Linked DNA regions of Homo sapiens: regions 2, 3 and 4 are each linked to region 1. The links are contacts of gene promoters, found by promoter capture Hi-C in human tissues and cell types (Jung and others, 2019). All regions are on one chromosome and are shown on one strand. Each heading gives the region's core, a stretch centred on a gene start or on the middle of the fragment in contact. The rest is flanking DNA. Distances are from core to core; before and after follow the strand shown.

Region 1 (3,416 bases), core at 453-2,952:
CTCTTCCCAGTTACCAAAGATACTCAGGCTCTCTCCCCAATTTCCTTCAGGCCCTTGCTCCAAAAGCTCCTTCCGGGTGAAGCCTCCCCTCCCATCCTCCTTAAAGCTTCAGCCTCTACCTGGGACACTTCCTCCCCCACTGCCTGCCTCCTTGAAACTCTCCTTAGTCCTCTTGCAGCCCACACAGCTGAACACAGGCAGGAGGGGGCGCTGCTGCCCTGGCTGGTGTGCAGCCACCAGAGGCTGAAGCTCACTGACGTCTGTCTGGGGCCCAGGATCACCTTCCTTGATTCCAGCTCTCTCAGGCTGTCAGGACCTGGCGCTGGGAGGCACTAGGCCATGCCCTGGCCTGAGGCCTTCTCTCTCCCTCTTTGCCCTGTGTCTCTGCAGGGAAGCCCGGCCCTGCCCCTGGGAGGGTGGGGGCAGACGTGTGGAGAGTGGGTGTACAAGGCCAGGGTTTGCCAGGCCCAGGACAGCCTGGCACCTGTCAATGGATGAGCGCCTCTCCCTTAGCCTGATGTCAGGGTGGGCATGAGGGTGGGAGCAGAGGGTGCCTAACTGAGGAAAGGGTCTGTGCAACCCCCTTCTCCTACCAGTTCTCGTTTCTGAAGTCTCCTCAAGCACACTGCGGTGTCCACACCATTGGCAGCAGGCTCCTTCTCTTCAGGTGGTCTTAGGAACTTCTCAGAACTTTTTGAGTTATCCTTCTGGTCTCTTCCTCCTGAGCACGGTTCTCCTGGTTGAGCTCCAGGCCATGCCATTCAACGCCCTCCAGGACAGGCCGAAGGGCTTGTCTGTTTGGTGGTTGCTAAGGTTTGAAAAAAGCCAGCTGGAAACTTAATCCCCAAAGCAACAGTGTTGGGAGGTGGGACCTAATGGGAGGTGTTTAGTCATGAGGGCTCCACCCTTATGAATGGATTCTCTCTCTCTTGTTCTCTCTCTCTCTCTTCCCGCCCCGCCCACCCCTCCTTCCCCAACCTTGTGATACCTTCCACCATGTCATGGCAAGAAGGCCCTTGCCAGATGTGGCCCCTCCATCCTGGGTTCCCAGTCTCCAGAACCATGAGCCAAATGCATTTCTGTCTGTTACAAATTATGTACGGTGTGGTTTTCTGTGATGAACACAGTGCTGTACCAGGGCCCTCTTGCCAAGACAGCCAGCTTATAGGAGCCTGCATGTGAGGCCCGGACGTCCTACAGAGCAGCAGTTAGAGGTCTGGCCTTCTGGATAGGCACTGCCCTGCCCTGCACACAGGACCTTGGTGGGGCATGATGGGGCTCTTCACCACGCTGCCCTCATTTTAGGAGGTGGGCAACCCTTTCTCCCCCTTCTCCATGTGCTTCTGCAGTTGGAAGAAGTGAGGGGGGTTCAGACACACTTAAGCTGAGCTTAGAGCAAAGCATGTCCCTCAAGGTGACCTTGCCGCATGGCCTGAACCTAGAATTCCCCTGACCAGGGTGGACAGCCATCACCATGGGCCTTTCTGCCTGGCCTAGTATGGCTCTCCTTCGAACTCACCTAGACCCTTGCATCAAAGGACTCGGGGACTCTGCTGCAGTCATCCTAGCACGGTCGAGAGGAGTAGGAAGGTGCCCAGCGGCTCAGCCTTTAAGGAGGTCTATTGGTCACCATTGCTTCTGCCTTCTTGAGAACCATCACCCTCGGAGGATCCGGTAGTGTATCCCAGTCAAGTGTCAAATGCGTTGTTCCCTGGAGAGGAAGGCTTATTTCCAGAAAGTACTCTGACGTTTTGTAATTTGTGATTTCTATCACTGGCTCAGTGGCCTACCCACTGCTCAGCTCATGTGGCATGACCAGGCTGGGGCGTCGGGTCATCTTGTTCTCTGGGTGTGTGGCAACACTGGTTTATGGCGTAATTTCCTTCCTGAGAAGAAATTCAGTAATTTCTAATATTCAGGGCTTTAGGTAGAGGCCTGAAAATCACTCTCCATGCCTCTTTCAGTATTTTATATATAGTTGTCTCTTGGTATCCATGGGGTTTGGTTCCAGAATCCCCTGCAGATACCAAAATTTGCGAATGTTCAAGTCCTTTATATATAGTGGCATAGTATTTGCATATAACCTATGCATATCAGCCAATCATAGATGGTGATTTAAATCATCTCTTGATTACTTCTAACACCTAATACTATGTAAATGCTTTGTAAGTAGTTGTTACCTGGCATTTTTTTATTTGTTTTATTTTTGTTGTTGTTTCATTAATTTTATTTTATTTTTGGAATATTTTCAGTCCATTGTTGGTTGAATCCACAGATGCAGAAGCCTTAGACACAGAGGGCCGACCACACCTATGTATGCTGTTCTTAAAGTAGCAACATATTTGTTCTGAACATAGAAGAAATTAGTCGTCTATTAGACTTTAAGGGAGTAAATATGGTCCAAGTTGATTTTTAAATTTAGCAAATAGTCATAGACATATCAGTGTCTTACAGAAAATATTTATTGGAATGCTCACTCTCTCATTTGGGATACTGCTTTGCCTTGCTGTGTCTTAAGAATGTCATCAGAGCATCACACACTTGAAAAACGTTTTTAAAAGGATATGATGATAATTAAGACCTTCTCCCCAACCCCTGCCCATTATCCAAGATCAATGTTTTTTTCCTTTATCCTGATTTTAAAATCAAGTACACTTTATTGAGGCATACTTTACATGAAGCAAAATGTACCCTTTCTAAATATGATAAGTTTGATGAGTTTTCAACAGATGTATACAGCTGTTACCATGACTGTGTCTTTACCCAGGTTCTTGCATTGCTCAATCCAGATACAGAATGTCTCCATCACCCTGACAAGTTCCTTTGTGCCGCACCCTCTAGCCAATCATCTGTTTTGAGGAGAGTTTTAAAACAAAGGTTTTTGTTCTTTTTCACTGATGACCATAACCTACCACAGACAGGGTCTCTCTCTCTCTCTCTCTCTCTTTTTCCCTGTTCTTGCGCCAGCTGCCTGACAATTTGTGGGATTAAAGCTCTAAGCTGCTTACTGGCTCTTCTGACTAGGGAGAGGGAGCAAGCCTCATTATTTTTCTATTCTTTTCAGTGACTGCTCACTCCTCTTCCTCCAAAATCCCTATCCATCCATCCATCCATCCATCCATCCATCCATCCATCCATCCATCCAACTTTCCATCTACCCATCTATCCTTCCATCTATCCAATCCACTTGCGTGTTGAACGTCTACTATGAGCCATTGGCTACCAGGAATCCCACTTCCACCCAAATTATGTTTCAACAGGGAAGACAAACAATTTAACAATTACGATAAAAAAGAAAATATGCCATACAATGGAAAAGAAGGGGGCATGATGGGAGACCCAGCGGGAGTAGCTGGCAACGATTCTTAGGGGGAAGAGACATTCCTAATAGACACCTGCAGGAGAAATATTAAAGA
Region 2 (3,416 bases), core at 397-2,896, 1.8 Mb after region 1:
GTGCAGTGGTGAGAACATGGCTCATTACAGCCTCAGTCTCCCAGGGTCAAGTAGTCCTCCCCACCTCAGCCTCCCAAGTAGCTGGAACCACAGGCGTGCGCCCCCAAGCACAATTAATTTTTTTTTTTTTTTGAGATGGAGTTTCGCTCTTGTTGTCCCGGCTGGAGTGCAGTGGTGTGATCTTGGCTCACCGCAACCTCCACCTCCTGGGTTCAAGTGATTCTCCTGCCTCAGCCTCTCCAGTAGCTGGGATTACGGGCATGTGCCACCACACCCGGCTAATTTTGTATTTTTAGTAGAGATGGGGTTTCGCCATGTTGGTCAGGCTGGTCTCAAACACCCGACCTCAAGTGATCTGCCCGCCTTAGCCTCCCAAGGTGCTGGGATTACAGGTGTGAGCCACCACGCCCTGCCAGCTAATTCAATTTTTTTTTTGTAAAGATGAGGTCTCCTCGTGTTGCCCAGGCTCGTCTCGAACTCCTGGGTTCAAGAGACCCTCGCAATGTAGCCTCTCAAAGTGCTGAGATTACAGACATGAGCCACTGCACCCAGCCAATTTCTCTTTCTAAAAATAATTAATTTTTTTGAGACAGTCTCACTCTGTCGCCCAGGCTGGAGTACAGTGGCGCGATCTGGGCTCACTGCAACCTCCTTGTCCTGGGTTCACCCACTTCTCCTGCCTCAGCCCCCCGAGTAGCTGGGATTACAGGCGCCCACTAATATGCCCAGCTAATTTTTGTATTTTTAGTAGAGATGGGGTTTCACCATGTTGGCCAGGCTGGTCTTGAACCCCTATCAAGTGAACCCCCAACCTCGACCTCCCAATGTGTTGGGATTATAGGCATGAGCCACTGCACCGGCCTTATGCCTTTAGGACTCTTATTTATTTATTTTGAGACGGAGTTTCACTCTTGTTGCCCAGGGTGGAGTGCAATGGCGCAATCTCGGCTCATTGCAACCTCCGCCTCCTGGGTTCAAGCATTCTCCTGCTTCAGCCTTCCGAGTAGCTGGGATTACAGGCATGTACCACCACGCCCGGCTAATTTTGTATTTTTAGTAGAGATGGGATTTCTCCATGTTGGTCAGGCTGGTCTCGAACTCCCGAAGTCAGGTGATCCGCCCGCCCACCTCGGCCTCCCAAAGTGCTGGGATTACAAGCGTGAGCTACCGCGCCCGGCCCCAGAACTCTTTTTTTTTTTTTTAAATCATGAGTTAGATTGATAGTTTTCAGGGCAAATCCAAACAGTCTACATTAATTTCCGTCTTTATTTCGTTAAGGTTTCACATGGACACTGGTGGATATGGAATGGCTTTTTTCTGCGCAATTCACATCCGACCAGGTCAAGTGACTGGAGTTCACCGGTCTCGGGTATACCGCATCTCGCGCCAGGCTTCAAACTCTAGATCCCCGAGTCTCGAGCTCCAGCTGGGTGTCGAGACGGGTACGGGCCGGCCGCGCCTCGCGCATGCGCCCTAGGCCCGCAGGGCCCCGCGCTGGAAGCTCAGCTCCCACTGTACCCTGCTTTAACCAGTCAGGCAATTCATCTTCCCCAAGCTCCCAATTCGGCATTGCCTGGAGGCGGAAGTGGGTGGGAGGGGCCAGACGTGCGCCCCTCCCCGGAAGTGGGCGGTACCCATAGGGCTCCACAGTCGTTCCGCCACCTCCCAGTCGGGTTGCGGCGGAGGCCGTTCCTGGCTTTGTAGCTCGCTCAAGATGGCGGCGCAGCCACCCCGCGGGATACGCCTCAGCGCGGTGAGCAGCCGCGAGGGGTGGAGCGGGCCGTGTCCCAGGAGGGCGGGCGGGCAAGCGAAGGGGGGCCGGCAGTGGGCGGTGGCGGCTTGTGGGGCCGACGCGGCGGCGGGGGCTGCGGCGGGGCCCGGGGAGGGGGCGGCCATCTCGCTCCCGTCGGCGGAACAGCTCGGCTGCGGGCCGGGCTGCGTTCCGTCGCCTCTGCATTGTGTTTCTGTTTTGCTTCGGGGCGGGCCAGGGTCGCGGCTCCTCCTCCCAGCTCCCTCCTAGTCTCCCAGCAGCTGTCGTCCGCGGGCGAGGCCTCGGCGGGAGATCGGTCTGCTCTCGGGGCCGCGGGGCCCCTGACCCTCTTCTGTCCGCTGGGCGTCGTGGTGGGAGGGAGCGGGTTCCGCGTCCAGAAACGCCGGCGGCCTCGACGTCCCGGGGGCGGGGGGACGGGGCTGCGGGCCTGCCTGCGGGCGAGTGGAGTCAGGATGAGTGTGCCTGATGCCTGTCAGTGCCTGCAGCTTCCTTGGCAGTGGAAGCCTTGGGGCCCAGACCCTAGATCGCTGAGCTCGAGCTCTCCTCTTTATCCCGCGTTGCGTCTGTTTTGGGGCGTTTCGAGTTCTTGGAAACCCTGTGAACATTTCTTGTATCTTAAATCGTAGGGAGCGGTCACACAAGATAACTTGAAATCTCACGTCCAGGAAATGTGGGCGTGGCTTCCCCACCTGATTATCCTAAAAAACTTTTCTACCTTGTGAGCGCAGTTGATGTTATGCTGAAATGTTCCTCTTTTCTGGAGGTTGTTGACTTTTGCCAAAGAATGACTGCCCTAGTGCCACTAATTTTAACATTCGAATGGGTAGTGACTCCTTGGGGTACAAACACGTAGTGAATAATTGGTGCATTGCTCTGGGACTTTCATTCGTTTAGGCAGATTCTAACACCTGGTTTTGACGGACTTTAAATTTTTTCTAGTCCGATATTTGTGAAATGATATTTGCTTTTACTTGCGTTTCCTTGACTGTTTGTGTTGTTGAGCTCTTCGCATGTATTAGTCTTTGTGGTTTTTTGTTTTGTTTTTTTGAATTGCCTATTCATATCCTTTGACCATTTTCTGTTTTTCTTTTGGGAGGATCTTTATTGATTTGTAAGAGTTCTTTACGTATTCTGGATAAAGGTCCATCCTTTCGTTATGTAACTAGCTTATTGAGTGAGCTAGGCTTTAGTAGTTTGAAAATAGAGGACAATTTTATTCTTTTTTTCTTTTTTTTTTTTTTAACCACTGAGTGTAAACATTAATTATTCCCCACTTGTGTGAATCTGGGTTGACTAACGCTTTCCCATTAGCTTAAGGTATTGTAAAGTCTGGCCTTACCTAGTTTAAAATCTCTATTCTCTCTCCCTCCCTTTTCCCCCTCTCTTTCCCCTATCTCCTTTCCCCACTTCTCTCTCCTTCCTCTCTCGAGGTTGAGTCTTGTTCAGGCCCAGAAACCTGTAGTGGAGAAACGGAGTGAGTTGATTTCCTGTTTCTGTCCTTTGATTCTCTTCTCCCTTCCCGCCCCCAGGCCCTTGTAGACTCTGGCTCTTCAAGATTGAGGGGAGAAAGGAAGCAGAGATAATGGTCAGTGTTTAGAGACCAGCATTGTTAGCGGGCACTCTGGGTGTAGCTGCTGTCCATGTG
Region 3 (3,416 bases), core at 917-3,416, 1.6 Mb after region 1:
CACATTGACTTCTCCCTCTGCTTCCCTATTGGGGTGGCCAACCCCAGCCACGTGAAGAGGAAGAATGCCAGCAAGGGCCAGGGTGGGGCTGGAGCCAGAGATGACGAGGAGGAGGAATAAGCCTGCTTGTCCCCTCCTGGGCTGGTGGATTGTCTAGTTTTCCTGCCAAATGATAAAACAGGATCAATGCTTTATTTAAAAAAATAAAATTATGAAAAACAGAAATTAAGGTCACTCAAGAAGAACTAGGCCAGGCACGGTGACACAAGCCTGTAATACCAGCACTTTGAGAGGCCAAGGAGGGAGAATCGATGTAGCCCAGGAGTTCAACCAGTCTGAGCAACACAGTGAGACTCCCATCTCTAAAAACAAATAAAAATAAAATAAAATAAAAAATTATCCAGGCAGGCCGGGTGTGGTGGCTCACGCCTGTAATCCCAGCACTTTGGGAGGCCAAGGCGGGTGGATCACGAGGTCAGGAGTTCGAGACCAGCCTGGCCAACATGGTGAAACCCTGTATCTACTAAAAATACAAAAATTAGCTGGGTGTAGTGGCAGCGCCTGTAATCCCAGCTACTCAGGAGCCTGAGGCAGGAGAATCGTTGGAACCCAGGATTCGGAGGTTGCAGTGAGCCAAGATCGTGCCACTGCACTCCAGCCTGGGTGACAGAGCAAAACTCCGTCTCAAAAAAAAAAAAAAAAAAAAAATTATCCAGGCATGACTGTGGCACACTTGTAGTCCCAGCTACTAGGGAGGCTAAAGGGGAGGATCACCTGAGCTCAGGAGACTGACGCTACAGTGAGCCACGACTGCAGCACTGCACTCCAGCCTGGGCGACAGAGAAGACCCTATTAAAAAAAAAAAAAAAAAAAAAAAAAACAGAAATAGAAAGCCTAAATAGCCCCATATCCTTAAAACAAGGTTCCAAATGATCTTTTTTTTTTTTTTTGAAAAGTCTCACTCTGTTGCACAGGTTGGAGTGCAGTGGTGCAATCTCGGTTTACTGCAACCTCCGCCTCCCGGGTTCAAGCAGTTCTCCTGCCTCAGCCTCCTAAGTAGCTGGGATTACAGGCACGTGCCACCACACCCAGGTAATTTTTGTATTTTTAGTAGAGATGGGGGTTTCACCATGTTGGTCAGGCTGGTCTTGAACTCCTGACCGCGTAATCCACCCGCCTCAGCCTCCCAAAGTGCTGGGATTACAGGTGTGAGCCACCGCGCCCGGACCAAATGATCTTTAGGAGAAAAAAGAAGGAAATACTGGGGGAGGCACAGTAGGAGATCACAGCAGGGGCCCACCTCCGGAACCTCAAGTAAGGACTTGAGAGAGAAGGTAGAGTCAGAGTAACAGAGACACAGGCGGGTTAGCCAGCTCTGCATGGAAAAGGCTGAGTCGTGATGATGTCATGGTTCTCCCCAAATCTCAAAGTCACTGATCAAACAACTCAGTTTACACTGAAGACGATGGATGAGACTCTAATTTTGTGCCCACAGCTTGACACACCTTTGGGAATTTGGTTTAACTTTCTTTGCCGGTACACAGATCTGTGAGAACATATGATCAATCCAGATCTTTATAGATCTATATCCTCCCTGGACAAACCTAAATGCAGACACTTTTAGCACCCGTAGGAGTTAGGTAGGATTAAATAAAAACATTCCCTCCCACTTGGGGGCACATTCACTGGGAATCCCAGAGCGATGTCGCCTGCCCACACCTGCTAAGTGCGCTCACAGGGCATCTAGTTCCCTCTCTTGAGTTCCTTTTAAGCAAGCAAGGCAACCTATGTCCAGAGAAGCAGTTACTGTGTCTAAGTAAGTCACTGCATCTTAGGAAAAAGCAAACATTCGCATTTTGCAGTGCATGATGGGCGCACACCCAAGAAAATTACTCAGCACTTGTTTTTCTCACTTTGGGGTTTTCCCAAAATAATTTCTTCAGTCCAGTTGCCAAGAATCTGGAGCCCCCGACTGACCCATCAAGGTCCGATTTGGCTTCGGACACCTCGCAGATCACCCCGCGGCTCAGAGCCCGGATCCTGAAGGGCGCAGCGTGGGCAGGGGGCGGGCCCGGGAGTTGGAACAGAGGGCACAGACGGCCCCTCCTCGGAGGGGAGGGACCGGAGCCGGGGCCTTTTTCTTTAAGACTCGCAGCACTGGATCCCAGAACTTAGTCTGCGCGGCGGCATTGACACTAGCTGGGCTCCTCGGGGCGCGCCCCAGGTGGTCCGAAGCCCGGTCCGCCCTCCACGCAGGTGCCCCGCGCTCCCCGCTCAGCCATGTCGTCCTGCAGCCGCGTGGCGCTGGTGACCGGGGCCAACAGGGGCATCGGCTTGGCCATCGCGCGCGAACTGTGCCGACAGTTCTCTGGGGATGTGGTGCTCACCGCGCGGGACGTGGCGCGGGGCCAGGCGGCCGTGCAGCAGCTGCAGGCGGAGGGCCTGAGCCCGCGCTTCCACCAACTGGACATCGACGACTTGCAGAGCATCCGCGCCCTGCGCGACTTCCTGCGCAAGGAGTACGGGGGGCTCAACGTACTGGTCAACAACGCGGCCGTCGCCTTCAAGAGTAGGTGCAGGGCTTGGGTTGGGGCCCCCTGGAGCGCTCCGAGGGTGCGGAGGTGGCCAGCCGCAGGCTCCCCACCCGTCCACTTGAGTGACCGAGGAGGGTGGCGCCGACCCCTAGGGATGCGCTCAGCCCACGCCTCCCGCGAGGCGGTTTTCGCTTTCCGTGATTCGCTGAGCCCCAGGCGGGCCCGGGCGACAAACAGCGCGCCCCGCCCGCCGGCCTGTGAGGGCCTGTGCGCGGCCCGGGGCCCTCCCCGAACTGTCAGCCGCTGTTGTGTGCAGGAAAACTGGCCTCCTGGGAGGGGGCAACGCCCTGCTAGAGTTCATCAGCTTTCCTTCCAACGCGAGAAACATTTTCTCTGCAAAGAAACGGTCTCCGCTCGCTTTGGGCTTTCGCTTTCCTTGAAAGGGCGCATTCATAGATGCCCGGAGGCATTTGCTCGGGAAAGGAAATGAATCGCTAAAACAGGATTAGCGCGCGCTTGCCCTTGGTGGACTTGACAATTTGTGTAATGCAGAGCTTTGATAGGCTCTGGCAAAAAGGAAGCGAGCCTTCTCGTTCCCCCACCCCCGCCCGGGGAGCTTATGTTTGTTATAAAATACGTGCGTGTGGTCTTAAAAGCATCTTCCTTAAGGAGAGGGGCGGGGATCAAGAGATTGCTTATTCTAACTACTACTGAAGAAAATTACAGGAGGGCGCAGTGGCTCACGCCTGTAATGCCAGCACTTTGGGAGGCCGAGGCAGGAGAAACGCTTGAACCTGGGAGGCAGTGAGCCGAGATCGCGCCACTGCACTCCAGACTGGGAGACAGAGCGAGACTCCGTATGAAAAAAAAAAAAAAGTTACT
Region 4 (3,416 bases), core at 268-2,767, 1.2 Mb after region 1:
CCTCCTCCATCTCCCCTCCATAATTCACCTTATTTTCCAGAGCCTGCTCTCCTCAACTACCTCATTCCAATTTACTATATGTTGGCTTCTGAAGAAAGCCAACGTTTGGAAGCCAATGTGTGGTAAATTGCTCATTGCTAACTGAGGTGTATTTAAGTTTGCATAGTGACTATTATGAGCAGTATTTCATACATTCTTAGCAGTCAGAGAAGCCTTCCTGCGAACGACCACCACTCTTCTACCTCTTTTTCCCCTCCTCTCCCACCCATGCACACATCCCTTTCTGTTTATGGAATTCATAAAAACATGTAGCAAGCTGAATCTAAAAAGTCCCTGGTCCCTTCTAAAGAAGTCTGTTATAAAGAGTGGAAGAAACAGCCAAAGAAGCTATTGCCAATGAAAAGAGAGACCTCGAACCTTAATATTGTTTCCCATGTCTTTGCTCAACACTTTGGAAGAGATTTTATGGGTTTTGTTTTTCCAGTACAGTTGACTCTTGCACAATATGGGTATGAACTATGCAGGTTCATTTATACAGACTCTTTTTCAGTAAAAGTTACACTGAACATGCCTCCTCTCCTGACCTCCCTTCCACCTCCTCCATCTCTGCTGCCTCTGCCCCTCTTGAGACAGCAAGGCCAACCCCTCCACTTCCTCCTCCTTATCAGCCTACTCGACATGAACATGATGAAGATGAAGACCTTTATGATGATCCACTTCCACTCAATGAATAGTAAATGTATTTCATCCACCTTTTTCTTAATAACATTTTCTCTTCTCTAGCTTACTTTATTGTGAGAATGCAGTACATAATATATATATATAACATACAAAATATGTGCTAATTGACTGTCTGTGTTATCAGCAAGGCTTCCAGCCAACAGTAGGCTATTGGTTAAGTTTTTGAGGAGCAGGCTATTGGTGAAGTTATACATGGATTTTCAACTGCATTGGTGGAGGAGGGGGGTCAGCATCCCTAATCACCACATTGTTCAAGGATCAACTATAATTTCTTTGCTGTGCCCAAAATTTGAGAGGTACTTATAACTGCTGGTAGAATTTTTCCTGTGTAAAAATAGGTGGCATTTGTCTGAGAAAACCAAACCTGGGAAAGCACAGATTCAATCTGAATTCCAAAAGGGTGTGCTTTCCCATCTGTACACTAAAAGATTTCCCTGTAATTCCATTTGCTGGTGACTGCACATTTTTCAAATTAAACTTGAGGAAGGAAGAGAACACTTGTCCTTGAGAAGTTTATAGCAACAGAAGCACCAGAATAGAAACTTTAGATAACTTAGAAAAATTAAACACCTCTAAACAGCACCCCAAAAAAGTTAGCCATTTTTAAGATATGAACATTTTATTTTTTCTTAATTAGAGCATTGAATATCATAAGTAGATCAAGTGTGTTTGCTCCTGTTATTAAGAGCAAGAAAGGAAGATTGGCCAGGCATGGTGGCTCATGCCTGTAATCCCAACACTTTGGGAGGCCGAGACGGGTGGATCACTTGAGGTCAAGAGTTCAAGGCCAGCCTGACCAACATGGTGAAACCCCGTCTCTACTAAAAACACAAAAATTAGCTGGGCGTGGTGGCAGGCACCTGTAATCGCAGCTACTCGGGAGGCTGAGGCAGGAGAATCACTGGAACCGGGGAGGTGGAAGTTGCAGTGAGCCAAGATCGCGCCATTGCACTCCAACCTGGGCCACAGAGTGAGACTTTGTCTCCAAAAAAAAAAAAAAAACAGATTATCCTTTTAGTGCTTGAAAGTGCTCTGCCCTTTAAAAAATATACCTTACAGAGACTAGAGACATATAACTAAATACAATCTTAGACTGAGTCCTTATTGAAGGAAAAAAAGTGTTATAAGTACATTGTTGGGTCAATTAACAAAACTGGAATATGGACAGTAAATAAGAGTATTATATTGAGGCAAAATTTACCAAAGTTGATAAGCGTACTACAGCTGTGCAAAAGAATAAATATTCCTAGTCTTAGGAAATACACTCTGAGGGATTTAGGGGTAAAGGGCCATGGTGTACGCAACTTGCTTGCAAAGGAGACAAATATATTTTTTCTATGTTATGCATACATGTATATGTGTATGTATGGAAAGAGAGAGCAAATGATAAAGCCAATGGAATAAAATGTCCACAACAGGTGATTCTGGATAAAGGGTATTTGTTGTGCTTCTCAATATTTTTACTATTGCAATTTTTCTGTAATTTGAAATGAGTTCCACACTAGAAGTTTAACAAATATACACCTTACAGTTTGAAATTATGTTTTAAAGAAAAGTTGGAAAGCGGAGAGACAAAAGGGGGAAAAAAACAGGTAAAAAATTAATTTCGGGAAAATAATTATCCACACATCTAGGTGGCTTCTTCCCATCTTCTGAGACAGGTCAGCATCATAGATGCCTACTGTACTCCAGTCCTCAGCCTCATTCTTATCTCTCCAGTCTTCCTGATCAGGAAATAGCTTCAAAGGTCAGCCAGGTTGGCTCAAAAAATCCACAGACAAAATGGGTGAAAATGAGTATCTTGGAAATGGTGTGTTGCATCCTCTTGGTCCTGAGCACTCTGCCTCCTCGTGCTGCTCCTGGAGCCACCACTGAATCAGGCAAACACATTTCTTTTCTTTCATTTTTTTTTGTTTTGGTTTGGTTTGGTTTTTGGTTTTTGATTTTTGTTTTTTTTTTTTGTTTTTTTTTTGAGACAGAGACTTGCTCTGTTGCCCAGGCTGGAGTGCCATGGTGTGATCCTGGCTCACTGCAACCTCTGCCTCCCGAGTTCAAGTGATTCTCCTACCTCAGCCTCCCAAGTCACCGGGCTAAAGGTGCCCACCACCACGCCTGGCTAATTGTTGTGTTTTTAGTAGAAACGAGGTTTACCAAGGCTGGTCTCAAACTCCTGACCTCAGGTGATCCGCCCGCTTCAGACTCCCAAAGTGCTGGAATTACAGGTGAGGCAAACACATTTCTATGCCAGACCTCTAGGGGGAACTCCTTGGGATTGACGCTCAAAGGCATGAAGCTTTGAATTTCTCTCTCAATGTTACAAAACTTAAAACCCCCTTCGAAATAGATGGCTACGCTGCAGACCAAGGTACTAAACAATATTTTATTATAACAATAATCATTAGTGATGTCAATTGAGAAAAATGACAACACAAGTCTCAATCATTTTAGGAAGTTTATTTGCCAAAGGTAAGAATGCGAGCCTGGGAGACAGGTCTATGCCTTTCTCCAAAGATGATTCTGAGGGCTCCAAATTTAAAGGGGAAAGGGCAGGATATTGCAAAGTACACAATTTTCACGTAAGAGGGGGCTAGGAAAAATTAGTCATTCGTGCCTTTGTCTGGCTCAATAAATCTGCATTTTTTTTATGTAAGATGACATAGACAAATAAGGCAGAG

Evidence for each region. The method cuts DNA at HindIII sites, captures the fragments that hold promoters and counts their contacts. A contact is called where the count stands out against the background at its distance.
Region 2: the fragment with the promoter of MORC3 here is called in contact with the fragment with the promoter of KCNE1 in region 1 in 1 of the 25 tissues and cell types used here (spleen).
Region 3: the fragment with the promoter of CBR3 here is called in contact with the fragment with the promoter of KCNE1 in region 1 in 1 of the 25 tissues and cell types used here (spleen).
Region 4: a fragment that was not itself captured here is called in contact with the fragment with the promoter of KCNE1 in region 1 in 1 of the 25 tissues and cell types used here (dorsolateral prefrontal cortex).

What each region holds. Positions count from the first base shown.
Region 1 is chr21:34,510,508-34,513,923 of GRCh38, forward strand. It overlaps KCNE1 (potassium voltage-gated channel subfamily E regulatory subunit 1), which reads right to left and starts at 1,703. Exons shown (of 4, transcript NM_000219.6): 1 at 1,520-1,703; 2 at 594-808. The HindIII fragment of the contact is 8,709 bases long and covers 1-3,416 here.
Region 2 is chr21:36,318,551-36,321,966 of GRCh38, forward strand. MORC3 (MORC family CW-type zinc finger 3) reads left to right here and starts at 1,647. Exons shown (of 17, transcript NM_015358.3): 1 at 1,647-1,753. The coding sequence starts at 1,715. RefSeq lists a silencer at 1,771-2,230. The HindIII fragment of the contact is 28,282 bases long and covers 1-3,416 here.
Region 3 is chr21:36,132,913-36,136,328 of GRCh38, forward strand. It overlaps CBR3 (carbonyl reductase 3), which reads left to right and starts at 2,167. Exons shown (of 3, transcript NM_001236.4): 1 at 2,167-2,569. The coding sequence starts at 2,281. CBR3-AS1 (CBR3 antisense RNA 1) reads right to left here. Exons shown (of 3, transcript NR_038893.1): 3 at 1-162. It also overlaps the pseudogene RPS9P1. RefSeq lists enhancers at 1,522-2,329, 2,330-3,136, 2,972-3,141 and silencers at 2,152-2,221, 2,652-2,821. The HindIII fragment of the contact is 7,591 bases long and covers 1-3,416 here.
Region 4 is chr21:35,727,519-35,730,934 of GRCh38, forward strand. No RefSeq gene overlaps it. Among named protein-coding and RNA genes, the nearest start is that of MIR802, 8.5 kb to the left of the region's middle. The HindIII fragment of the contact is 4,135 bases long and covers 1-3,416 here.